2 separate regions of the Homo sapiens genome follow, and region 1 is linked to region 2. The links are contacts of gene promoters, found by promoter capture Hi-C in human tissues and cell types (Jung and others, 2019). All regions are on one chromosome and are shown on one strand. The core of a region is centred on a gene start or on the middle of the fragment in contact, and the rest is flanking DNA. Distances in the headings are between cores, read along the strand shown.

The links. Contacts are between HindIII fragments. The study calls those that stand out against the background at their distance.
Region 1: a fragment that was not itself captured here is called in contact with the fragment with the promoter of PRKACG in region 2 in 1 of the 25 tissues and cell types used here (hippocampus).

What each region holds. Positions count from the first base shown.
Region 1 is chr9:68,951,165-68,954,140 of GRCh38, reverse strand. All of the region lies in intron 14 of PIP5K1B (phosphatidylinositol-4-phosphate 5-kinase type 1 beta), which reads right to left. LOC101927069 (a long non-coding RNA gene) reads left to right here. Exons shown (of 3, transcript NR_110647.1): 3 at 1-1,053. Among named protein-coding and RNA genes, the nearest start is that of PRKACG, 61 kb to the left of the region's middle. The HindIII fragment of the contact is 9,571 bases long and covers 1-2,976 here.
Region 2 is chr9:69,012,798-69,015,819 of GRCh38, reverse strand. PRKACG (protein kinase cAMP-activated catalytic subunit gamma) reads left to right here and starts at 1,707. Exons shown (of 1, transcript NM_002732.4): 1 at 1,707-3,022. The coding sequence starts at 1,728. The coding sequence ends at 2,783. The HindIII fragment of the contact is 11,337 bases long and covers 1-3,022 here.

The DNA.
Region 1 (2,976 bases), core at 343-2,842, 62 kb after region 2:
AGGCAAAAACCTCTCCCCATTCCAACAGAAGACTGGAGGATTTTATTTTTTTTCTCCCTGCGGAAAACACAGAACAGGATGTGTGGACCCAGGGACACCAGAAGCAATTGAGGTAAAAGAAAGAGAGGAAGTAAATATGTATATACTAGATGCTAAGACACCTGTTCCTGCCAGATGTCCCAGAAGGCTGACAGCCAGGCCTTTCTCCTCCAAGCAAGAAACTGGAAGCATCTCCTATAGGGAGTCTGACCAGCTCAATAGCTTGCTGGTCAACAAGCTCTGCTCAAGTGCTTAAGTTTCCAGTCAGGGATTTTTTTTTTTTTTTTTTTTTTTTTAAGACAGAGTCTTGCTCTGTTGCCCAGGCTGGAGTACAATGGTGCAATAACAGCTCACTGCAGCCTCAACCACCCAGGCTCAAGCCATCTGAGCCTCTGAGTAGCTGGGACTACAGGTGTGTCACTGCACTTGGCTAATTTTAATTTTTTTTGTAGGGATGGGGTCTCACTAGTATTGCCCAGGCTGGTCTCGAACTCCTGGGCTCCAACAGTCCTCCTACCTCGGCCTCCAAATATGCTGGGATTATAGGTGTGAACCACCACACCTGGCCTCTAATCAGTTTTCTAGTCTCCCACTCAAGCCTTAGTTGAGCAGACAAATGAAGATTTCCAAAAATCTGAGGAAAACCTCCAGTATAGAACATGTAGACTACAAAGAGAAAAAGGCAGCCTGGATGAAAACCGAGACTAAAAAGGGAGAAGAAACAAAATTCAGGGCAAAACAAAAAACATAATCCTAATATCTTCAGGAAAAAAGAGAAATTACAATCATGAAAAAAGGAAAGATTGCTAAAAAATAAAATCTCAGCGAACAAAAAAAGAATTCTTATAAAACATGGTAATGGAAATTAAAAACTCAGTGGAAGGATTAGGAGATGAAGTTGAGGAAATCTCTCAGAAACTAGGACAGAAACATAAATAGATGGGACTGAAGACAGAAAAGTAGAGAAAATTGGAAGACAAATCCAGGATATTCTGTATGCATAAAAGGAATTACAAAAAGGAAAAAGAAAATAGAGAGGAGGAAATAAGAAAATAGTTTAGAAAATTTCCCCAAACTCAAAACATGAGTTTGCAGGTTGAAAAGGTCCCCTGAGTGCTTAGCATGCTGGCTGAAAATAGACCTGCACCAAGGCCTAGCATCATGAAATACTGAGACTCTGAGAGAAAATCAAAGAGTTTACAGGTTTCTGCAATAATAATAATAATAATAGGAAGAAAGAAAGAAAGGAAGGAAGAAAGGAAGGAAGGAAGGAAGGCAGGCAGGCAGGCAGGCAGACAGGCAGACAGGCAGGCAAAGAAAGCAAGCCATTTACAGAAGATCAGAAATCAGAACAGCACTGGATTTCTCAATGGTAATTGGAAACTAGAAGACAATGGAGCCAAGCCTTCACCATGTTGAAAAAAAAAATCCAAAATATTTGCAATCTAGAATTCTATACTAGTTAATCTATCAATCAAGTGTTAGGGTTAGAATAAAGACTTAAGACATGCAAGATCTCAAATATTTTGCCTGCAATGAATATTTTTCATACTGGAGGATTTTCTTCTGGAAAATGTGTTCCACCAAAATGAGGGAGTAAACCAAGAAAGAGGAAGAAGCAAAGAGGAAGATGTAGGAGATGACAAACAACGGAACTGATACAGACAAGAGGTTACTAGAATCCCCAGAATGATGGAGCAGAGAGGCCCCAAAGTAACATTTGTACATCAGGTCCTAGAGGGCAACCAGTTCAGTCCAGGCTGGTCAGAAGTGTCTGGCGGAAACTTCTGCAAGACAATAAAAGGAACAGAACCTCATGCACTTAAATGGTTTGAGAAGAAATGAAGACACTGGTGGAAAGCTTAGGGTTCTATTAAGGAAAAATACACAGAAAACTAAGCAAACCGAAGAACAAGGCAGTCATTTATTACAATAAAAACAAAAAGTCACACAGGAAAGGAAACTGAAACATAGTATATGACACTATTCACAAAGCCATAATAAAACACTCAATATCGATCGGACTACAGTCAAGATGTAACTATACAGGGAAACTGGAAGGGTGTAGGAGGAGGGGGTGGGAACAGTACACATACGTGGTATGTGTCGGGTGGAGAAAAGACAGCTAAATCTTCGTCTTCTATAGTGGGCAGTTATTAGCTAATGCCTACACCCAATAGATCAAGCAATAACAATATAAGCATGTTATTTAGAAAAACCAAAGTAATTGCCAAAGGAATCAGCTCAAAGAGTTGAAGGTGATTGCACATGAAGACGTAGGGGGAGGTGGACTACGGCTTGCTCTTTTTCTTAACACATGTTACACGACTATTTGTTAAACTCTGGGCATAGAGTTTTGTTACAAAAATAATTTATAAATTTTAAAATCAATCAATACCTTTTTTAATAAATAAAAGGGCTGGATGACATGATGGCCAAAGTTCCCTCTCATCTCCAAAGCTCCGTGATTCTTTCAGGATGAGTTTTACCACTTAGGTTGGAAAGGCAGGAGGGTGAACAGGGAAAAGGCGAAGGCTCGACCGGTTCCCTAAATGAGCTTTGACCTGGCCTTCGAATACCTGGCCTCTCTCCTGTCACAACTCAGTGACCACACAGAAAGCAGCAGGTGAGGGTGGTTGGAATTAGGAGGACACCAACTGAAATGCACTCATACATAAATAAAAGACAAAAAATCTTCTCCCAGACAAAGTGCTTAGTCTGAACCATTCTTCCAGTGTGATGAGAAGCAATGAAAGAAAAGACAGAGAAACTCTACCATTATTTTTTTCCCCATGTAGCCTTCAGGATGAAATTTGCATTATAGCCAAATCCTTCATTTTGAAAACAAATCTGGTCATTTTTAAGTTATTTGTGACCTTCCACACACTAATTTTTAATAGGGCTGGCTGGAAAAATAATGAGCTCCATTACTTCATT
Region 2 (3,022 bases), core at 458-2,957:
TGTAGCCAGGGTGGGTAGGCAGAATTAGCTGTCAAACTTAAAGGGCAAGATGGAGAGAAAATAGGAGGATAAATGGGTATTCCTGTAGCTCAGTGTTTATGATGTAGGACAGAATCTTTGTACAGAATTGACTGGGGAGAGCAGCTCAGAACCCACCCTGTGATGGCTGAGTGCTGGCAGTCTTCTGGAGGGTGTGTGGGGCGGCTGACATGGTGGCCTGGGGGAGTGATGGAAGGCCCATCATCTATGTACTTTGACTTCTCATAAACTCCTGTGGCATGTTTTTAATAATTGATAGAATAAGTAAACAGAAAGTCAATAAGAATATAGAAGACCTGAACACTACTACTAGCCAACTTGACCTAAGTGACATTTGTAGAACACTGTATCCTCAAACAGCAGAATACACCAGAATATACATTCTTCTCAAGTGCATATGGGCCATCTACCAAGATAGATCATATTCTGGGCCATAAAATGAGCCCCAAGAAGTGTAAAACATTTTAGGTCACACAGAGTATGTTTTCTAACAATGGAATTAAATCAGAAATCAATAGGAAAATTCTTGAAAAATCCCCAAGTATTTGGAAACGAAATAATATACTTTTAAATAGCTTATCTGTCAAAGAAGATGAAAAGGGAGCTTAGAAAATATTTTGAGCTGGATGAAAAGGAAAATACAACATACCAAAATTTGTGGGATGCTGCAAAAAATAATACTTAGGAGGAAATTTATAGCACTAAGTGATTGTAATAGAAGAAAGATTTCAAATCAGTGACCTTAGTTCCCACCTTAGGAAATAAGAGCAATTAAACCCAAAGCAAACAGAAGAAAGGAAATCATATGTATGTGTTAAAATAAAACATTACATGCAGTAAAACTGAATTTTGGGGGGAAGTATACAGTTCTTTGAGGTGTTTGTTTGTTTGTTTGTTTGTTTTTGAGATGGAGTTTCACTCTTATTGCCCAGGCTGGTGTGCAGTGGCACGATCTCTGCTCACTGCAACCTCTGCCTCCCAGGTTCAAGCAATTCTCCTGCCTCAGCCTCCCGAGTAGCTGGGATTACAGGCATGCGCCACCACGCCTGGCTAATTTTTTTGTATTTTTAGTAGAGACGGGGTTTCACTATGGTGGTCAGGCTGGTTTCGAACTCCTGACCTTGTGATCCGCCCGCCTCGGCCTCCCAAAGTGTTGGGATTACAGGCTTTAGCCACTGCGCCCGGCCAGTTCTATGAGTTTTAAAACAAATGTAGACCACCACCCAATACATTGTAACCACCAGCACAATCAGGATACAAACATGTCCCACCACTTCCCACATTCCCTCAGGCTGTCCCTTCATAGTCCAACCGTCCCCTAACCCCAAGCCCTGGCAATCACTGATCTGTTCTCTCACACTATAGTTTTGCCTTTTCTGGAATGTCATAGAAATGGATTCATACAGTAAGTCTCCTTTAGAGTTGGCTTCTCTCACTTGCATAATGCCTTTTGGATTTATCCATATTGTTGAGTGCAGCGGCGTGATCTTGGCTCACTGAAGCCTTGACCTCCCAGGCTCAAGAAATCCTCCCATCTCAGCCTCCCATGTAGCTGGGAATATAAGCGGAGGCCGGGCGGGGGTCGCAGCGCCGCAGCCAGCGCAGCCAGCCCCAGGGGGCGCCATCTCCGCCGCTGCCGCCGCCGCCGCCGCCGCCGCGAGACCCCCGCCCCTGCCGCCGCCACCGCCATGGGCAACGCCCCCGCCAAGAAGGACACCGAGCAGGAGGAGAGCGTGAACGAGTTCCTAGCCAAAGCCAGAGGAGATTTCCTCTACAGATGGGGAAACCCCGCTCAAAACACCGCCAGCTCGGATCAGTTCGAACGGCTCAGGACGCTGGGCATGGGCTCCTTCGGGCGGGTGATGCTGGTGAGGCACCAGGAGACCGGCGGCCACTACGCCATGAAGATCCTCAACAAGCAGAAGGTGGTGAAGATGAAGCAGGTCGAGCACATACTGAACGAGAAGCGCATCCTGCAGGCGATCGACTTTCCGTTCCTCGTCAAGCTCCAGTTCTCCTTTAAGGACAACTCCTACCTGTACCTGGTGATGGAGTACGTGCCGGGTGGGGAGATGTTCTCCCGCCTACAGCGCGTCGGAAGGTTTAGCGAGCCCCATGCCTGTTTCTATGCCGCCCAGGTCGTCCTGGCCGTCCAGTACCTACACTCGCTCGACCTCATCCACCGCGACCTGAAGCCCGAGAATCTCCTCATCGACCAGCAGGGCTACCTGCAGGTGACGGACTTCGGTTTCGCCAAGCGCGTGAAGGGCCGCACTTGGACCTTGTGCGGGACCCCAGAGTACCTGGCCCCCGAGATCATCCTGAGCAAAGGCTACAACAAGGCCGTGGACTGGTGGGCCCTAGGGGTGCTCATCTATGAGATGGCCGTGGGCTTCCCACCCTTCTACGCCGACCAGCCCATCCAGATCTACGAGAAGATCGTCTCTGGGAGGGTGCGGTTTCCCTCCAAACTCAGCTCTGACCTCAAGCATCTGCTGCGGAGCCTGCTGCAGGTGGACCTCACCAAGCGCTTCGGAAACCTCAGGAACGGGGTTGGCGACATCAAGAACCACAAGTGGTTCGCCACAACCAGCTGGATCGCCATCTATGAGAAGAAGGTGGAAGCTCCCTTCATCCCGAAGTACACAGGCCCTGGGGATGCCAGTAACTTTGACGACTACGAGGAGGAAGAGCTCCGGATCTCCATCAATGAGAAGTGTGCCAAGGAGTTTTCTGAGTTTTAGGGGTGTGCTTGTGCCCCTGTGGGTTTTCTTTCCTTTTTGTTTTTGGTGGTTTGGGGGATGGGAGGGTTGGATTGAACAGCCAGAGGGCCCCAGAGTTCCTTGTATCTAATTTCATCCTCACCCCACCCTCCAGGGTTGGGGGAGCAGGAAGCCCAGATATTTGGAGGAACAGAAACACCAGCTGCTCCCTCACCCCCCCCCATGCCTTCCTGGTCCCTCTGTGCTTCTCTCTTTCTCCT